Linked DNA regions of Homo sapiens: regions 2, 3, 4, 5, 6 and 7 are each linked to region 1. Evidence: promoter capture Hi-C in human tissues and cell types (Jung and others, 2019). All regions are on one chromosome and are shown on one strand. Each heading gives the region's core, a stretch centred on a gene start or on the middle of the fragment in contact. The rest is flanking DNA. Distances are from core to core; before and after follow the strand shown.

Region 1 (2,700 bases), core at 108-2,607:
AACTGAATTTGGCTCTTATTTTTAATTTTTTTCCATTAAAAAAATACATTATAGAAAAAATATATAGAGACGGGATCATGCTGTGTTGACCAGGCTGGTCTCCAACTCCTGGCCTCAAGCGATCCTCCCATCTCGGCCCCCCAAAGTGCTGGGATTACCGGTTTGAGCCACGCGCCTGGCCTCAATTTGTCTTTTAAAGGATGATTTTGACTACAAGAGAACTACTTGGATCAGGGTTGGGGGTGGGAGATGAGGAGGTGTGATTTCAGAGGCCAAGTACAGAATGAGTGAACAACTGGGAGAGACACATCGGCTGAGATTAGAGAGATGGTCCGGTAGACAAAAGTGTAAGCATGAGACCCGAGGTAGGACAAGCAGAACTTGCAGATCTATTACAGATGTAGGGGTGAGGAGTGCCAGGGTGACTCTTGAGTGTCTGGCTTGAGCAGCTAGGCAAATGGTGTGGATCAAAAAAGCAGCAGGTTGCAGGGAGGACGGCAGTGTTAATCGAAAGTCATGTTCTGTAAGTTTTAGGTTCGATACGACTCTGAGCGGAGATGTCAATTAGTCAACCGAATGTCAGGTGTGAAGATCGGCACAGAGGGCAGAACCAGAGACATTCATTAGAGAGCAAACAGGTAGAGGGCACTTAACCTATAGGAAGGATGCACTCATATAGAGCGAGAAAAGGGCCAGAAGGAGCCCTAATGAGTAGAGAAAGACAGGCTGAAAAGGACATCGGCGAGGTCAGAGAAATACCTTTAGGGTGTAATTACGCCTACGCGAGTGGGTAAAATGAGGGCATAATGACGCGGACTGGATTGCAATAAACAGCTTTTATTCTTTTATCAGAGACACGATCTAGCTTTTTAGCCCAGGCCGGAGTGCGGTGGCATCCTCACAGCTCGCTGCAGCTTCACTGGGCTCAGGCGATCCTCTCGAGTAGCTGGGGTACAGGCGCAGGCCACCGTGACAGGCTTTTTTTTTTTTTTTTTTTTTTTTTTTTTGAAGAGAGGGTCTCACTATGTTACCCAGGCTAGTCTCGCAGTCTGGCACTCCTGGCCTCAAGCGATCCTCCTGCCTCGGCCTCTCGGCCTCCCAAAGTGCTGGCCTGTGCCCAGTCAATGGCTGTTCCAAATTAGGGTCTACCCATCTCTATGCAGGGCTAAAGTCCGCGGGCGGCCCCGCACCGCTACCAAAAGTACAGTCCTGTGCGCCCAGACGCGACGCAAACAAGAGTCGCAAGCTTCCGGGTCCCCGCCCCACCCCGGCTCCGCCCCTCCCCCAACCCTGCCAGGCTCTCCAATCGCATGTGGAATTATCGCTCTACCCAGGCGGTGGTGTCGATCTACGTTCCAATTGGGGCCGTACCATGGCGGAGAAGACTCAAAAGAGGTGGGTTTGCTGCTTGAGAAAAGCCTTTTCTCAGCTTTCCGTAGGGGTGGAACCTGTTCCTGGTCGCCAATGGTGGCGACTCAGAAGGTGTCTCATCCTGGGCATTCGGGCCGAAGGTACCTGAAGCCCAGACCTGGCGTCCACTGAGGGAGGGGGCGACGGAGTGGGGGCGGGGAGGGTTGAGAAGGGACGCGGAGTCGCTGCCTGGAAGGTTTTTGTTCCTGTCTGGCCGTCCCTCCCCACATGCGCCTGCGCAGAGGGGGTCTCCCGGCCGGGAGGGCGGGGGGGGCTGTGAGGGGAGGGTGACGTCAGCTTTTTCCTGGGGAAGGCCGGCTCCCTTCTCCCGCATAATCGGCGGTGCTTGGCGCCGCTGTACCCCACGGCTTGGCGCTGGATTCTCTGCTGCATGTTGCGAGACCCCCACGCCAGTGCTGGCCGCACCCCAGGCCCTTCCTGTCTCTGGAGGGTGGGGTGTGTAAAGGGATTTACGGTCGCTGTCAAAAGGGGGGCCGCGCCTGGACTTGAACTGTGACACACACACACACACATTATATAGATGCAAGGAGTACTTGCGCAGATTTGTTGCATAGATAAATTGCGTAATGGTGAAGTTGGCTTCTAGTGTACTTACCACCCAAATAGTGAACATTGTATCAGATGGGTAATTTTTCAGCCCTCAAACCCCTCCTACCCTCGCTGCTTTTAGAGTCCCCAGTGTCTGTTATTTCCCTCTTTATGTTTATGTGTACTCATTTTAGCTCCCACTTAAAAGTGAGAACATGTGCATTTGATTTTATTTCTGAGTTATCGCGTAAGGTAATGGCCTCCAGTTCCATCCATGTTGTTGCAAAAGACATGTTTCCTTTCTTTTTGATGGCTCTGTAGTATTCCATCGTATAGATACACCACATTTCCTTTATCCAGTCATCCGTTGATGAACACTTAGGTTGATTCCATACTTTGCTATTGTGAATAGTACAGTGATAGTCATAGGAGTGCAGTTGTCTTTTTAATACAATGGTTTCCTTTGAGTAGATCCTGGGTCGAATGGTAGTTCCGTTTGGATTGGTAGCTCTATATGGATTGCTGGGTCCAATGGTACTTGTGTTTAGTCCTTTGAGAAATCACCATACTATTTTCAATAGATGAACTAATTTATATTCCCACCAATAGTGTATAAGCTTAGAACTGTGACATTTTTTGCCAGGCGTGGAGTGGACAAGCTCCTTTGTAAACATGTGGGGACAGGAAGTTTGGCTTCTTCTCCGGTAGTCTTCATTGCTGGGGGCTGTTGGTGGCTGTTGG
Region 2 (2,700 bases), core at 89-2,588, 420 kb after region 1:
ACAGGCTGTATTTCCTGTGTTCTAAATTATCGTGGGAACCTCAGTTACATCCTCTCCTGCCATGTTTTGGGGCTTGGAGGTAAGAAAGAGGTAAAGCAAACAGATAACACTGTAAAGGGATGAGAGGTAAGTAGAAAAGAGAAAACAACTGAAAAAGCAAAAAAAGGTTCTTTGTCGTCTGCACAAAGCACTTCCTGCTCTGGGTTTCCATCATGCCTTTTCTGAGAACCAACACCTCGTTTCCTAATCCACTACTATCCCATGCTGTGACGGGAGGACCATGACCACCAGCACAAAGGACCACAGCAGAACATAAACAGTGCAGGTGAGGAAAATGCAAACTTTGCCGTAGAAAGCAGAACCATGTGAATTTCCCGTGAGTCACCCTCACTCTAAAGAACACTCACATATTTGGTAATGGCTCTCATGAGCTGGGCCGGTGACAGAGGGCATCTCCACCAGAACCATCTCCGGTCAGGCCACATGAGGGTGGAGGCATGGTATAGCTGACGTTCAGGTTGACGAGGAGACACTACAAAGGCTTGCCATCCTGGAATTTACCAAACCCAAGAAGCTGGACACTGATACTTTTTTTTTTTTTTTAAGACGGAGTCTCGTTCTGTCACCAGGCTGGAGTGCAGTGGCACGATCTCAGCTCACTGCAACCTCCGCCTCCCGGGTTCAAGTGATTCTCCTGCCTCAGCCTCCCAAGTAGCTAGGAGTACAGGCACATGCCCCAACGCCCAGCTAATTTTTATATTTTTAGTAGAGACAGGGTTTCACCATGTTGGCCGGGATGGTCTCGATCTTTTAACCTCGTGATCCACCTGCCTCAGCCTCCCAAAGTGCTGGGATTACAGGCGTGAGCCAGCTTGCCCGGCTGACACTGACGCTTCTTTTTAAAAGAAAACATTAACAATGACATCCAGCACATCTTTATTGCTCTGCTTGCTAACAAGCAGCACACCTGTGTTCCAGTGGTGAAATCCATGTGCTCAGCAACACAGTGCAGACTGCAGGCTTCATCACATCCCCAGCACGTGACCCATGGAAATCAGAGACTGGAGCTGCTTCCTGCCATTTCCGAGAATGAAAAGAAACAGAATTCACTAACATCTTAAAAATCCTTCTACAGTGATTTTATTATAAATATGTTCTTTTGGAATAAACAAATATTGCATTCAAGACTATGGGCAAACTTGCTCTAAAGTAACAAACGAGGAAGAAAGGAACCAGGAACCATTTAGAAGTGGAGAAAAACACAGCAAAGACACCTGCATGCCACGCTCAGCGCCTTTCTCCCAGGGAGTAACAGAAGGTTAACAGGGAACATCACATTGCCCATGAGCCCATTCTACTCAAATAAGCTTTGAGTTTGGTAATTTGCACTTGTTTTGTAAACTGAACTGCTCCTCTCCTCAGCCGCAAGAAGCAGATAGGAAGACAGTCTTCAGACCCCGAGCATCAGCAAGAACACTCTTGATTGTGTATCTGTAACTCTGTTCCAGGGCAAAACTGTTCCCTATTTGCTGGAAGTAATGTCAGAGTAATCCTTCAGCACTCCAGCCAAGTGTTCGTTATGAGTCTTAAAGCGTCGCTTTTTCTGTGAAGCAGGCTTTTTCCTTCTCTGAATAGGGGCCTAAAGGAAAAGGTAAAAACAATTAGAAACAACAGCTGCTCTGAGGGGTGGTGTGGCCAGGATGTTCTGAGCATGCCCAGATGCCAGTGGCTGAGGATGCCAGGTTCGGACCCTTCTCCTGCTCTGCCACCCAGCAGCACACATGGGGCACAGCACACGCCCTGACCAGACCCCGGGCCTTTGTTCCCCTGAGATGCAGATGCCATCGGGAATGAAGGAGCAGGCACAAAAACCTGCCAAAATGGTTCTAGGCACTAAGTCAAACAAAAGGGACGATGAAGCCCTTCAGCTCTGTCTCTGTCATCAGGTTTAAAAACGTATCCACCATTACCGATTTTAAAAAGATCTGAAGAAAATATGGCAAAATCCTGAGAAAGGAGGAGCACATGAAGGTCTGTAATATTCTCTATTCTTTTCTATATACTTGAAATATTAGCATCACATGATGAAAAAAATTAACAAATGAGACAATAATAGGAAATCATGAAGGGCTGCAATTACACTCATTTGTGGAAAGAGATTGACAATAAAGCTTCCCTTTAGGTGAGTCCTAAAAATTCACCAAACACACATGCCCACCCCACACCCCAGAAAGACACAGGTGACAAGCTATGAAGCATGACGGTGGATAAGGAAAGGGGGGAGGAGCACAGCACTGCTAACAAGGGTGCTGGTGAATCATCCCCCCGGGCTTTGTTCTTAGACTACAGATTTTATTTGCTGGTGCAAGGCAATGTAAAAGTCATCATTTAATTACTAACATCCCCTGTGAGCAGGATTTAGAGACTATACGGACAAAAATATCTGGTTCCTAGAGGACCTGAAAGTTACTATGGCAGAACCAGGCACCAGGACGGCGAGGCTCACGGAGCAGGGGAGGGCCCCGTTCAAGTCTGAAAGGTTGTGCAGATCAAGGCACAGCATCCCTTTAAGAATAGGGAGAAGGGCTTGTAGCAGCTTAGAGTGGGAGAGTGGGGAACACACAGGCCCTGGAAGGTTCCATATGGCTATACCTCAAGAGCAGGACTGCTTGGGAGGAGCTGGGTGTAGAAAGGCACTCA
Region 3 (2,700 bases), core at 114-2,613, 410 kb before region 1:
TGGAGCATATAGTAAAATAATCAGGCAGTAGAGTCAGACTTAACTGGGCTCAAACTCTGACTCAGACACTTACCAGATATATATGTGACCTTGGACAAATTACTTTAATTTTCTAAAAATCCCAATTTCCTCATCAGTGAAATGTGAATTCAAATAGGAAGTTATTTAAAGAGTTGGGTGGATTAAAGGTTAACATTTAATTTTTTATAAAACCCCATAAAACATGGTGGCGTGCACCTGTAGTCCCAGCTACTCGGGAGGCTGAGGCAGAGGAATCACTGAACCCGGGAGGCGGAGGTTGCAGTGAGCCGAGATCGTGCCACTGCACTCCAGCCTGGTGACAGAGCAAGACTTAAAAAAAAAAAAAAAAAAAAAAAAAAAAAAAAAAAAAAACCATGAAACGGAATTAATACCTTAAAAAAGCACTTATTTTATGCCAGGCTCTACTTCGGTTCTATCTTTCCATTAACCCTAAGGAGTCATTGCTATTATAACCTCCATTCTACAGATGAGGAAAGAGACACACAGAGATTAAGGCATTCGTCCAACATCCAGAAACATCCTGAGAACCTGGCAAACTCAAGGGACTTGTGGGGGTGGGGCTGCTCTGCTCCATGCCTTAGGCCCTCCCATCCCTAAAGGGCAGTGGGACCCCTAGGGGCCTTGGCCTTCATGTGTCTCCAATACTCAATTTACCCCATTTCCCTGGGGTGACCAGCTACCCAAGGAGCTTAAAGACCTGCACCTATGGGGTTGTCCCAGGGTCCTCAGTTGGGCCCAGACCCAAGAGGGTGTCCCATCAAGAGATTATGCCTGCCGGTCGGCAGAGTATCCTTTCATGAGATTGTGTGAGGCACTAGAATGGTGCTGACACCAAGATTTTAAGGTAACTCAAATTTCTGTATAGAGATGAGACCCTGTAAAAATATTTTCCCAGGGCCACACACCCTAAGGCAGCCCACACAATGTCCCCCTGCCAAGAAACCATAAGCCGGGACTGGAACCGTGCTCTCCATGTGCAGAACGGTCTCTCGGCAAGCACACGAATGCAGTGAAGTTATTATTAGATTTTAAATGCTTTGGGGAGTTTGAGCTAAAAGAAATCCCATGGTAAAGCAAGTTTGTAAAACAAAATGTGACTTGGCCTCTGTTTTTAAGTCTCAGTTCCAGAGGAGAAAGGCAGACGTTCTACAACAAAGAATGTGGCTGGTCTTTGACTAGGCTCCTGGGTGGGAATTTCTAAACCCTTGGAGTGTTCTGAGCGATAGGAGTGTCTTTGGTACTCATGCTGGGCCCCTAAGGCCAGGCCTGAGTTCATGCTGGTGAGGTGAGGTGACTATGCCCTTGACAGTTTCAGCATAGGGACTATCCAGGCCAGAAACGCCAATCATATGCTTAGAGGGGTTGGGGGAGTGGGGAAGGCTGCAGATGAGATCAATAATGTGGCTTGTATTTCAATCATGTGTGGGTGGCCTGGAAACCCCAGGGCTTGTGGCTGGGGTCTAAAGGGTGGGGAGTTTTTTGGGGGTCTGTGCTTCCAACCAGGAAAGTCTGCACCAACTCTGGTAGTTGGTGTCAGAATTGCACTGTAGCAGGAAATGGGAAGCCCTGTCCTGTGAAGCTGTGCCCCAGCGGGGAAGGGGTAAAAAGGGCAATGGAACAGCCCGGCTTCACATTGTGTGTTTCAGGACCCTCTATCTCCATCTGTACCTTCCCAAGCCTTGTCCTTTATCCTCCACCTAACACCTCTCCCCTGCCACAGCTGAGAGATCATGTCTGAAACACATGCTGTCCTCTTAAAAACCTTCAAGTGTCTTCCTTACTTATATCCTGTTACTATCTGCTGACATGTGGAGAAGAGAAATTAGGCAGATTAACTTGATCACCATGATATATCCCATGCCTGAATTTAGATTCTCTTCCAAGGACCTCAGATAGTTGACACATGTGTCCTGAAGACATTTGAAGCAGAATGAAGTCTTTTTCTCATGAGGCTGGATCAAGTAGGACTCTGTCTACTTGACTGTTTTGTCAACAGAGGCACAGGATGAAGTAGAAATAGTATCAAAGTGGAGATAAACGCCCTGAGTCTCGGTCATCTCAGGGACTGTGCTCTCCCAGGAAAAGCGAGAGATGGATGGCAGCTGCTGGAGAGCACATAAATGTCATTTCCAAGTGCCCAGGATTGCCATTGGCCATATCGATTGGATAATGACAAGGAGAGCTGGTTCGATTCCAAAAAGAGAAACTATGCAGAGGAGGCAAGAGGCAAAAGGAGTACTTAATTTTTATGAACCTGTTGGCGGGTGCTCCATATTAATATTTCATTTGTCAGTCTTGTCTTCTTTTTTATTTTAAACTCAAAATGAAGAGCAATGCCTAGCTCCTGACTGTAATCTCAGTAGGAGTGTGTGGTGTGTCCACATCCTGCTCCATGCCCCAGACCACTGTAGTTAATGACCACACATACAGGCATTGTGGAACAGTCTTCTGGTTTTGTAAAACAGTTACAAGTTGAATTTTGGGAATATGTAATCATTTCAAGGATTTTATATTTTTTAAAAAAATCATCCTACTGCTAAATAGCAGCCCTCTTGTTCTCAGCCAACAGCATGTGGAGGGGGTCTAACTTAGGGGCCATAAATAAATCTGGACAATAACCCTGCATAAAGCAATCTTATTCTTTCCCCCTTTAAGCTT
Region 4 (2,700 bases), core at 157-2,656, 460 kb after region 1:
AATACCAGTACCACACAGAAAAGTGACTTATGGTCACTGTAGCATTGTTCATAAAAGGAAAATATTAGAAATAACCCAAGCGTCCATATTAGAAGACAGATTAACTACAGCACATCCATTCCACTACACAGATGTTCACAAAGTAAATGTAAAAGTTCTCTATGTGCTAATTTGAAAAGATGTCCAAGACAAATTAATAAGTTAAAAAACATATGTATCATGCCTATCCAAAGAAAACACACACACACACGTAGATACCAAAAGCTAGAGAGGATGCAAAGGAACAGGAGCTGTCATTCATTACTGGTGAGTATGCTAAATGGTACAGCTACTGTGGAAGACAGTTCAGCAGTTTCTTACAACACTAAACACACTCTTACCATTTGATCAATCTAGCAATCACGATCCTTGGTATTTACCCAAATGAGCCAAAAAATTATGTACATACAAAAATCCACTAAGGATGCTTATTACAGCTTTATCCATAATTGCCAAAAGCTGGAAGCAACCAAGATGTCCTTCAGTAGGTGAGTGGGTAAATAAACCGTGGTATATCCAGACGATGGAATACTATCCAGTGCTAAAACGAAATGAGCTATCAAGCTATGAAAAAAACATGGAGAAACCTTAAATACATATTACTAAGGGAAAGAAGCCAATCTGAAAAGGATACATACTGTATGGCTCCAACTGTTGACATTCCGGAAAAGGCAAAAACCATGGAGACAATAAAAAGTTTAGTGGCTGCAGGCCAGATGCAGTGGTTCACACCTGTAATCCCAGCACTTTGGGAAAACGAAGCAGGCCACAAGGTAAGGAGATCGAGACCATCCTGGCCAACATGGTGAAATCCCATCTCTACTAAAATACAAAAAATTAGCCAGGCGTGGTAGCGGGTGCCTGTAGTCTCAGCTACTCGGGAGGCTGAGGCAGGGGAATCACTTGAACCTGGGAGGCGGAGGTTGCAGTGAGCCAAGATCAAGCCATTGCATTCCAGCCTGGCAACAGAGCAAGACTCTGTTTTAAAAATAAATAAATAATTTTAAAAATTAAAAATTAAAAAAAGTTTAGTGGCTGCCAAGGGTTGAGGGGAGAGGATGAACAAGCAGAGCCCTGAGAATTTTTAGGGCAGTGAAAATACTCAGGAGGATACTAGAGTGGTGGACATAGGTCATTATACACTTGTCCAAACCCACAGAAAGAACACCACTAAGGGTGAACTCATGTAAACTATGGACTTTGAGTGGTAATTTGTCAACGTAGGTTCATTGACTGTCACAAATGTACTCTTCTGGTGCAGGATGTTGATAGTGGAGGAAGCTGTGGGGGGATGGGCAGGGAATGGATGAGAATTCTGTATTTTCCAATCAATTTTGCTGTGAACCTAAAACTGCTCTAAAAAAAAAAGTGTTTTTTAAAGTAAATAAGAAAAAAGTATGTATGTTAAAAAACATATGCACTATGAACCCTTGTATATAGGGAAGGGTAGAAATAAGTATACATTTGAACTTTGTTTCTGCATAAAGAACCACTGGAAAAAAAATCACAAGAAACTAATAAAAGAGGTTACCTGTAGAAAGCACAAGAGGGGAGAAAATGAGTAGGATGACAGGTGAGAACAAGACTCCTTCATTGTACCTTATTATACAACTTTACTTTTTGTACAAAGAGATATGTTATTTATCCAAAACAAAAATAACTCTTCAAAAGAAAAAAAAACCCAAGCTCCAAGTTCCCTCACATTGAGCAGGTTACTGAACCTCATTGGGCTTCAGTCAGGCCCTGGAAAACTAAATAGCCACTTCGCCAAACTAGAAGGTACAGACAGCAGATAGAGACATAAGCTTAACACACCACACAAAAGAACCATTCATTGAGCGTTTGCTGTTAATTCATTCACTTATTCATTCAAATATTTAGTGGTAACTACTATGTGCTGAGAGTACTGCAATGAGACACACAATAAAATGCAAACTACTTCTGCCTTTAGAGCAGAAGAGCTCCCAATAGAGGGGAGAAGCTAAACATACAAGCTACAAAAGTTAGATATGGCCGGGCATAGTGGCTCACACCTGAATCCCAGCAAATTGGAAGGTCAAAGTGGGCAGGTTGCTTGAACCCAGGAGATTGAGGCCAGCCTGGACAACATGGCAAAACTCTGACTCTACCAAAAAATTGCATATATACAAAAATTAATCAGGTATGGTGGCACACGCCTATAGTCCCAGTTCCTTGGCAGGCTGTAACGACTGCTTGAGCCCAGGAGGCAGATGCTGCAAGTGAGCTGTGGTCATGCCACTGCACTCCATCCAGCCTGGGTGACAGAACCAGATCTTGTCTCAAAAAAAAAAAAAAAGCTAGGTAAACAACTATCTGTCAGGAAGGCATCTTCAATCAGAAGAAATGAAAGAGAAAACTGGACAGACCTTGAATGACGACATGATTAACTAGAATACGGGGAAACGCCGGGCAGCTATAGTACAGCAGTGGTCTCCTACGTGGGGTGTACACACCCCAGGGACACAAAAGTGGGTACCTCGTGATGATTCTTTAGAACATTTATTAAAATTGTCTTTAATTTCCATTTAAAAGTTATGCTTTACTTAGGCTGGGCACAGTGGCTCATGCCTGTAATCCCAGCACTTTGGGAGGCCGAGGCAGATGGATCTTGAGGCCAGGAGTTCAAGACCAGCCTGACCA
Region 5 (2,700 bases), core at 152-2,651, 480 kb before region 1:
GGGTCTTTCCCAAGACTGCAATGAAGGTATTGGCCAAGGCTGGAGTCTCATCTGAAGGCTCAACTGAAGGAGGATCTCCTTTTAAGCTCACTCACATGATTGCTAGATGGCCTCATTTCCTCACTGTCTATTGATGAGCTCAATTAGTTCCTTGTCATGTGGGCCTCTCTATAGGGAAGTTCACAACATGGAAGCTGGCTTCCTTCAGAATGCTGAATAAGGGAGAAAGAGAAGGCACGCACAATGAAGGCACAGACTTTTTGTAACCTAGCCTTGAAAGTGTAGTTCATTACTTTTGTCATACTCTATTCATTAGATGAATGTCACAGTATTCAACCCACATTCAAGATGAGGGGATTTATACAAGGGCATGAATACCAAGAGAAAGGGATCCCTAGGGGCTATCTTAGAAGCTGCCTACCACACTCCTGCATTCAACAGATGCTTATCAGTAGTCTACTGCTTTCCAGGCATTGTGCTAAGTGGTTCACCAAATAAAAGTTTTTAAAAATGAGACATGGTACCTGCCTCATGAAGCTTATAAAACAAGAGAAGGTAGGCATGAGTTCATGTGAAAATGCAACTCACCGTACTAGGAAACACAGCACAGGGATTTGGCCAAGTCAACAGTCAGTAAATGCTTTTCTGCAAAAGTGACACCTGAGCCAAGGTCTTTTGGAAATCTAGGAAAAGAAGGGAGAGAAAAATCATTCCAGGTTGAGATAATAGCATATGCAAAGGTCCCAATTGGGTATGACATTTAAAAAGTTTTAATCCCAAAGTAATTTATGACATTGGACCAACTTGGAAAAGATATTTACTTTAGATACCTATTAATTTCACTTCAGTCAATAAGCAATACAACTCAGAAGGCATTTTGTCTCTGACTTGCCTCAAGGGCTATGTATGCAACTAAAAAGAGAGAATTTTACAGCAGTGCTTTAGTGGACATTTGAATACTGTTAGATGTACTTAAAATGCAGGTTCTGATTTGGTAGATCTCAGACTTATGCATCAGCATCAACTGGAAGCTTGGTAGAAATGTAGAATCTCAGAGCCCAGCCCAGAGCTCTAGAACAGGTGAGCACTTGAATCACCTGGAAGATCTGGGCTCCATCCCAAAAGATGCTGCTTCAGTTGCCTTGGGTTGAGCTAAAAAATTTGCATTTCTAACAAGTTCCCAGGAGATGTTTCTGCTGCCACCATCCTTTGAGTAATGCCATTCTATGTCCCCAGAGATCAAACTCAGAATATTCCAGAAAAGACCTTGAAAGGTTGTCCCGACTGGGGTAAATGTTAAGGAAAGATCCTCTGCTGGGAGGAAAAAAGATGCGCTCAACTTGTTTTCTCTGAAGGAGAGAGTAAGGAAGAGCTGGAGAGAGAGAGTCTACACCCTGCTGACCGCCCAAGGATACACAGTTAGTGCTTTTTTTTTTTTTCAGGGGTCTTCCAGGGACTATTAGGAATCTCTGTGAATTAGAAGCTGCATTAGTGGGTTCTTACACTGCTAATAAAGACATACCCAAAACTGGGTAATTTATAAAGAAAAAGAGCTTTAATGGACTCACAGTTCCACATGTCTGGGGAGGCCTCACAATCATGGTGGAAGGCAAAGGAGTAGGAAAGGCCTCTTACATGGTGGCAGGCAAGACAGTATGTGTAGGGGAACCGCCCTTTATAAAACCATCAGGTCTCGTGAGACTTATTCACTATCATGAGAACAGCATGGAAAAAGCCTGCCCTCATGATTCTATTACCTCCCACTGGGTCTCTCCCATGACATGTGGAGATTATGGGAGCTATAATTCAAGATGAGATTTGGGTGGGGACACAGCGAAACCATCAGCAGCCAAAACACATTTTTACTGTTACAACTACATTTCTTGCAGACACATTTTAACTCAAATAGTAATTTTCATTTCTTGGCATATCTACATGTCCCTGGGAGACCTTCAGGACATAGGTAATATGGTGTTGAGGTCAGAGAATTGGACTTAGACTCAAAAGACCAAGGAGTGGTCCTCAGCTCTACACTCCTCTGCATGTGAGGCTCCGGTTAAGACATTAACCCTTCAACACCAATTTTCTCACCTGGACAAGGAGAATAGTACCAGCTTCAACCATCAGACAGGAATGCTGTAGGGATCCAAGCAAGAATGTCTTTTCCCTTTCTCTTCTCTCCACCGCCATCCTTCCCTCTCTCTTTCCTTTGTCTTCTCCTGTCTCAGCCTTCCATTTCCTTCCCTGGAGTCAATGGGGTGTCAGCAGGGCAGCCATGTGAGAAGGTAGCCTCATGCAAAGTAATAGAGTCCCCCACCAGGAGACTCTCCTAGCAGTGGGGTGGTCTGGATCAGAGTGTCTGAAAAAGCCTGAGAAAGGTGAGGAGGAAACCCACATACAATGTAGGTTGGCTGTGGTCCCAACCACAGGAAATTGGCTACATAGAGGGAGATGGGTCAAATAAATATATTAAAGACAATGGGAGCCAGGCCTTCACTGTTGAAGAAGGGAATTACCAACATGGAAAGAGAGAAAATTAGAATAGATCCAGTAATGTTAAATTAGAGTTGTTTTTAGATAGACGTAGAAACAAATATAGATGTAAATGCAAGAGTGTGTGTGTGTGTGTGTGTGCTCTCCACCTCTGTCCACTGAGAGATCCTAGGATCAGCAACCCCCCAGTAGCACTGAGAACACTTA
Region 6 (2,700 bases), core at 158-2,657, 450 kb before region 1:
GGTGTTAAGCCTACAGGTGCACAGAGTGTGAGAGTTGAGGTTTGGGAGCCTCCACCTAGATTTCAGAGGATGTATCGAAATGCCTGATATCCAGGCAGAAGTCTGCTGCAGGAGCAGAGCCCTCATGGAGAACCTCTACTAAGGCAGCACAGAGGGAAAATGTGCAGAGGGAAAATGTGGGGCTGCAGCCCCCACACAGAGTCCCCACTGGGGCAGTGCCTATTGGAGCTCTGAGAAGAGGGCCACTGTCCTCCAGACCCCAGAATTGTAGATCCACCCAACACCTTGCACCATGCACCTGGAAAAGTTGCATGCACTCACCGCCAGCTTATGAAAGCAGCCACAGGGGATGTACCCTGCAAAGCCACAGGGGAAGAGCTGCCCAAAGCCTTGAGGGTTCAGTCTTTGCATCAGCATGGCCCAGATGTGAGACATGGAGTCAAAGGAGGTTTTGAAGCTTTAAGGTTTAACGACTGCCCTGCTGTATTTTGGACTTGCATAGGGCTGTAGTCCCTTTGTTTTGGCCAATTTCTTCCTTTTGGAACCAGAGCATTTACCCAATACCTGTACCCCCCTTGTATCTTGGCAATAACTAACTTGTCTTTGATTTTACAGACCCATAGATGGAAGGGACTTGCCTTGTCTCTGGTGAGACTTTAGACTTGGACTTTTGAGTTAATGCTGGAATGAGTTAAGACTTTGGGGGACTGTTGGGAAGGTATGATTTTGTTTTGAAATGTGAAAAGGATGTGAGATTTGGGAGGGGCCAGAGGCAGAATGGTATAGTTTGGCTCTGTTTCTAAAACCAAATCTCATGTTGAATCATAATCTCCATGTGTTGGAGGAGGAGCCTGGTAGGAAGTGATTGAATCATGGGGGCAGACTTTCCCCTTGCTGTTCTTGTAATAGCGAGTGAGTTCTCATGAGGTCTGGTTGTTTGAAAGTGTGTAGTACTTCCCTCTTTGCTCTCTCTCTCTCTCTCAATCACTGGCCATGTGAAGATGTGCTTGCTTCCCCTTCACCTTCCACCATGATTTTAAGTTTCCTGAGGTCTCCCCAGCCATGCCTCCTGTACAGCCTGTGGAACTATGAGTCAATTAAACCTCTTTTCTTCATAAATTACCCAGTCTCACGTAGTTCTTTATAGCAGTGCGAGAATGGACTTATATGGCACTTAGACGTTTAGATCATTTCTCATTCTCTAAAGGTGAATAAAAGTCCTCTACCTCTGGCAGAAGACCAGCTGTTTATTCTGTGAAGAGGTAGGTCACAAGAAGCCTATGAACTAGGGTTATCAGCTACAGGTGAAGGCATGGGTAACTTAATAAAATAGGGAGATTAATCAAAGCTTAAATACTAAAATTGACAGCCCCTGCCGAGACTCTTAACCTCCAGGGATGAGGCTGTGTGTTAATCTGTTCTTGCATTACTATAAAGAAACACTGATGCTGGGTAGTTTATAAAGAAAAGACACTTAATTGGCTCATGGTTCTGCAGGCTGTAAAGGAAGCATAGCAGCATCTGCTCAGCTTCACTCATTGTGGAAGGTGAAGGGGAAGCTGACACTTCATATGGCTTGAGAAGGTGGAAGACAGAGAGGGGAGAGGTGCTACACACTTTTAAACAACCAGATCTCATGAGAACTTAGTCACTATCATGAGAAAAGCAAGGGGGAAATCTGCTCCCATGATCAAGTCACCTCTCACCAGGCCCCTCCTCCAACACGGGGGATTACAGTTTGACATAAGATTTGGGCAGGGACACAGACCCAAACCATATCAAGTTGTAAGAGCTTCTCTAAGGAAGCTGACTAACCCCATAAAAAGAGACTGAAAGACTCTGACATTTGAGATTCTCCAATTGTCTTAGTTTATTCAGGCTGCTATATCAAAATACCTTAAACTGGGTAATTTATAAAGAACAGAAATGTATTGCTTACAGTTCTGGAGGCTGAGAAGTCCAAGATCAAGGCACTAGCAGATTCAGTGTCTGGTGAGGACCCACTCCTCACAGATGGTGCCTTGTATGTGTCCTCACATGGCAAAAGGGCAAGGCAGCTCTCTCAGGCCTCTTTTATTTTTATTTATTCATTTTTATTTCAATAGTTTTCAGGGTGCAGGTAGTTTTTGGTTACATGGATAAGTTCTTCAGTAGTGATTTCTAAGATAAGGGGGCACCCATCACCTGAGCAGTGTACACCATATCCAATGTGTAGTCTTTTATCCCCCACCCCCCTCCCACTTTTCTCCCTGAGTTCCCAAAGTCCATTACAACATTCTTATGCCTTTGCATCCTCATGGCTTAGCTCCTACTTGTAAGTAAGAAAATGTAATATTTGGGTTTCCATTCCTGAGTTACTTCACTTAGAATAATGGCCTCTAGCTCCATCCAAGTTGCTGCAAAGGCCATTATTTCATTCCGTTTTATGGCTGAGTAGTACTTCATGGTGTACATATACCACATTTTCTTTATCCACTTATTAGTTGATGTGCATTGGTTGGTTCCATATTTTTGCAATTGGTAATCGTGCGCTATAGACATGCATGTGCAGCTGTCTTTTTCGTATAATGACTTATTTTCCTCTGGGTAGATACCTAGTAGTAGGATTTAAGGATTCTCCGTATTGTTTTCCTTAGTGGTTGTACTAGTTTACATTCCCACCAGCAGTGTAAAAGTGTTCTCTTTTCATCACATCCACAT
Region 7 (2,700 bases), core at 100-2,599, 480 kb after region 1:
AATATTAAGCTTACCCCACGCAACTGTATAAACAACTGGGAAGACTATGAAAAAAGAGATGACAATGTGTTAAGGACAAACACCACACAAATGGCCAATTATGAATCACAAACAGTTGTGCTTATGAGACATGATGCTTATGTCTCTGGCATCTACTACTAACTCAATGTCAAGCTTAGTAAACACTCAATAAATATTTGTTGAATGAATGACTATAATACAGATATTTCTATGCATTCCTTTATGGCCCCAGAAACTAATGTACCAATTCATCTATAATTTTATTTTATTTATTTTATTTTATTTTATTTGAGATGGAGTCTCACTCTGTCGCCCAGGCTGGAGAGCAGTGGTGTGATCTCAACTCACTGCAACCTCTGCCATTCGGGTTCAAGCAATTCTCCTGCCTCAACCTCCTGAATAGCTGGGATTACAGGAGACTGCCACCGTGCCTGGCTAATTTTTGTACTTTAGTAGAGATGGGGTTTCACCATCTTGGCCAGGCTGGTCTTGAACTCCTGACCCTGTGATCCACCCAACTCAGCCTCTCAAAGTGCTGGGATTACAGGCATGGGCCACCGCTCCCAGCCTTCATCTATAATTTTAAAAAAGAAGTCTACATAGCATGTACCTGGTCTGCTGCTGTTGTTAACAGCCACTCCCATAATTAAAAACCTTCATTCTGTTGTGCTTAGACCATAACTCTAAATAATACACAGTAACTAAAAATACTCTGTCTCTAAAGAGCCAACCTGGAGATCACTTTGCCATTTACATTTTAGAGACTATTTTTTGAATGCAGGTAGTGTATTTACCTAAATGAGCCCTCTTCCAACTTGCAGAGCTAAAAGCCAATTATTTTCCTTCATAATTCCTCCTAAATCAAACCACCACATGGAAATAATCACTTCCAGAGTGCAAAAATTATATACGGAACAAGTAATGAAAGAAAAGGAAGAACAAGAAAAATTTATAAGATTTTATGCACACTTCCTGAAGGAAATATCAGGCTGGCAAACCTGGACTGTTTGTTTCCTAGGTTACTACCTTTCCCGACATTATCTTCCAGCCCTAGCACTGAAGTATTCACTGAAGGATCTGAAATTTTATAATGAAACACTAAAGAATCATCAATTTGTTAGTAACTCACAAATTCCTATATAGGAATTTAGCTTAAGAACAAAAAAATAAAGGAGAAGGGATGACAGTTGATACCCCAGACAGCTCTATTCAAGTTTATGAATGATTTACTCTTAAGGGTGGCAAGACTTAATGCAAATGAACATAGAGGAAACTGTCAGCTCCATTGTGGTTCAACCAATAGAAGCACAGCTCCATCTTGGCTGTGCACTAGACTGCATTACAAACAGACGATACCATCGCTTCAGCAGCATCCTCTCAGACAAGAGGTAGGTTTATATGATCTTTTTTATTTAGTGGTACATGTCCTTATGATGCAATAGGAAAATATTTTACCCTGAAAAATCAACCAGAAAGCTTTGCTCCTACTAAATATCAAGAAAAAGCAATGTATTCGTTTCACCGCTTGGTAGGATTTTATTATGAAAATATGAAGACTGCCTTGTGCTATTTGATAAGCACCCTTACCATCTGTGCCTTAATGGAAAATTCATTACATTTTACATGAACCTGATCTATATCCAGACCTCAGAGTAAACCATAGCTTTTTATTTTAACTGGTTACTTGCTAATTTCATTTTCTCTGAGCGATTTCATTTCTGCAGTTTGGTCTGTCTTAACAAAGGATTTTTCTTAAAGAAAAACCCAGATCAAAAGCGAATTCCAGACTAAAGCTTTCTGATTCTATGTGCAAATGATATTGGCTGCTAAAAAATAGTTACTTATAAGAAAGTTTGTTATATTTTTTAGAATATGAGAAAATAGTTCAAAATTATTTTTATTTTGCTTTGAATGTAGATGCAGAGAATGCCAAGAAATTATCACAATTTTAATTTTTATATAAAAGATCATAAAAGGTATCACTATATGGGCTGCATTATACTACACTGAACAGATAATTTATACAGCTTCAGACTTCCTTAACATTTAATTAAAGTATTTCTTCACTGTGAAATTTCTCTCTCGTAATATAAAGTCATGCTATTAAACAAAAACCTTCTTAAATAGCCTTTCATTTTTGATATCAATTTATCACACCATTTAAATATAATGTTGAAGTCATTCTTAAACTGATCCTCAAAATAAATACAAAGTAAGTCCTTTTGATAAACTGCATTTTAAAATAAAAATATGTCCTAAGAAGAACTGGTTAAGAAAGGAGAGTAAGTACCTTTCTAGGTAACAAGATTATCTTCGTGGCTCAGAGCAATCATTCATGTCTATTAAAAATTAATATTAACTGCTGACCAAATTTCTAATTTTATACTATTCAAGCATGAAAATTTAGTTATTTACTAGATGTTAGAACTCCATCTATATACTATATCGGACCTAAAGAGCCAGCTTCTGTCCTTTTACCTTGCTGGTAAGTTTATTTAATCTTTAAAGGGTTTTTGTTTTTTTTTTCTTCATAATTTCTATTCCTTTTCTTAGTCGGCATTCAGCTAGCCTGAGCAAAGTATCCCCTGCAAAACCCAAAGGTTGCTGTAATAAGATACTAGATCTGTCCAGGTTCAGCACAGTGGGGTTAATTATCTAGAAACCATTTGTGCTTGCTAC

Evidence for each region. The method cuts DNA at HindIII sites, captures the fragments that hold promoters and counts their contacts. A contact is called where the count stands out against the background at its distance.
Region 2: a contact is called between a fragment that was not itself captured here and the fragment with the promoter of DCTN6 in region 1, in 2 of the 25 tissues and cell types used here (dorsolateral prefrontal cortex and mesenchymal stem cells).
Region 3: a contact is called between a fragment that was not itself captured here and the fragment with the promoter of DCTN6 in region 1, in 1 of the 25 tissues and cell types used here (lymphoblastoid cells).
Region 4: a contact is called between a fragment that was not itself captured here and the fragment with the promoter of DCTN6 in region 1, in 2 of the 25 tissues and cell types used here (IMR-90 fibroblasts and hippocampus).
Region 5: a contact is called between a fragment that was not itself captured here and the fragment with the promoter of DCTN6 in region 1, in 2 of the 25 tissues and cell types used here (heart left ventricle and mesendoderm cells).
Region 6: a contact is called between a fragment that was not itself captured here and the fragment with the promoter of DCTN6 in region 1, in 1 of the 25 tissues and cell types used here (thymus).
Region 7: the fragment with the promoter of SMIM18 here is called in contact with the fragment with the promoter of DCTN6 in region 1 in 1 of the 25 tissues and cell types used here (mesenchymal stem cells).

The regions. Positions count from the first base shown.
Region 1 is chr8:30,155,012-30,157,711 of GRCh38, forward strand. DCTN6 (dynactin subunit 6) reads left to right here and starts at 1,358. Exons shown (of 7, transcript NM_006571.4): 1 at 1,358-1,395. The coding sequence starts at 1,373. DCTN6-DT (DCTN6 divergent transcript) reads right to left here and starts at 1,649. Exons shown (of 1, transcript NR_186490.1): 1 at 818-1,649. It overlaps LOC124901927 (a long non-coding RNA gene), which reads right to left. Exons shown (of 2, transcript XR_007060880.1): 2 at 2,161-2,700. RefSeq lists enhancers at 449-658, 483-1,465, 1,409-1,558 and a silencer at 1,619-1,728. The HindIII fragment of the contact is 3,226 bases long and covers 1-2,700 here.
Region 2 is chr8:30,577,399-30,580,098 of GRCh38, forward strand. GTF2E2 (general transcription factor IIE subunit 2) reads right to left here. Exons shown (of 8, transcript NM_002095.6): 8 at 920-1,639. The coding sequence ends at 1,523. Among named protein-coding and RNA genes, the nearest start is that of SMIM18, 60 kb to the right of the region's middle. The HindIII fragment of the contact is 3,629 bases long and covers 1-2,700 here.
Region 3 is chr8:29,741,592-29,744,291 of GRCh38, forward strand. All of the region lies in intron 1 of LINC00589 (long intergenic non-protein coding RNA 589), which reads right to left. Among named protein-coding and RNA genes, the nearest start is that of LINC00589, 5.2 kb to the right of the region's middle. The HindIII fragment of the contact is 3,368 bases long and covers 1-2,700 here.
Region 4 is chr8:30,615,411-30,618,110 of GRCh38, forward strand. All of the region lies in intron 3 of GTF2E2 (general transcription factor IIE subunit 2), which reads right to left. Among named protein-coding and RNA genes, the nearest start is that of SMIM18, 22 kb to the right of the region's middle. The HindIII fragment of the contact is 4,176 bases long and covers 1-2,700 here.
Region 5 is chr8:29,677,322-29,680,021 of GRCh38, forward strand. No RefSeq gene overlaps it. Among named protein-coding and RNA genes, the nearest start is that of LINC00589, 69 kb to the right of the region's middle. The HindIII fragment of the contact is 5,662 bases long and covers 1-2,700 here.
Region 6 is chr8:29,702,495-29,705,194 of GRCh38, forward strand. No RefSeq gene overlaps it. Among named protein-coding and RNA genes, the nearest start is that of LINC00589, 44 kb to the right of the region's middle. The HindIII fragment of the contact is 6,434 bases long and covers 1-2,700 here.
Region 7 is chr8:30,637,231-30,639,930 of GRCh38, forward strand. It overlaps SMIM18 (small integral membrane protein 18), which reads left to right and starts at 1,350. Exons shown (of 3, transcript NM_001206847.2): 1 at 1,350-1,409. The region is part of intron 2 of GTF2E2 (general transcription factor IIE subunit 2); the gene reads right to left. The HindIII fragment of the contact is 2,719 bases long and covers 1-1,655 here.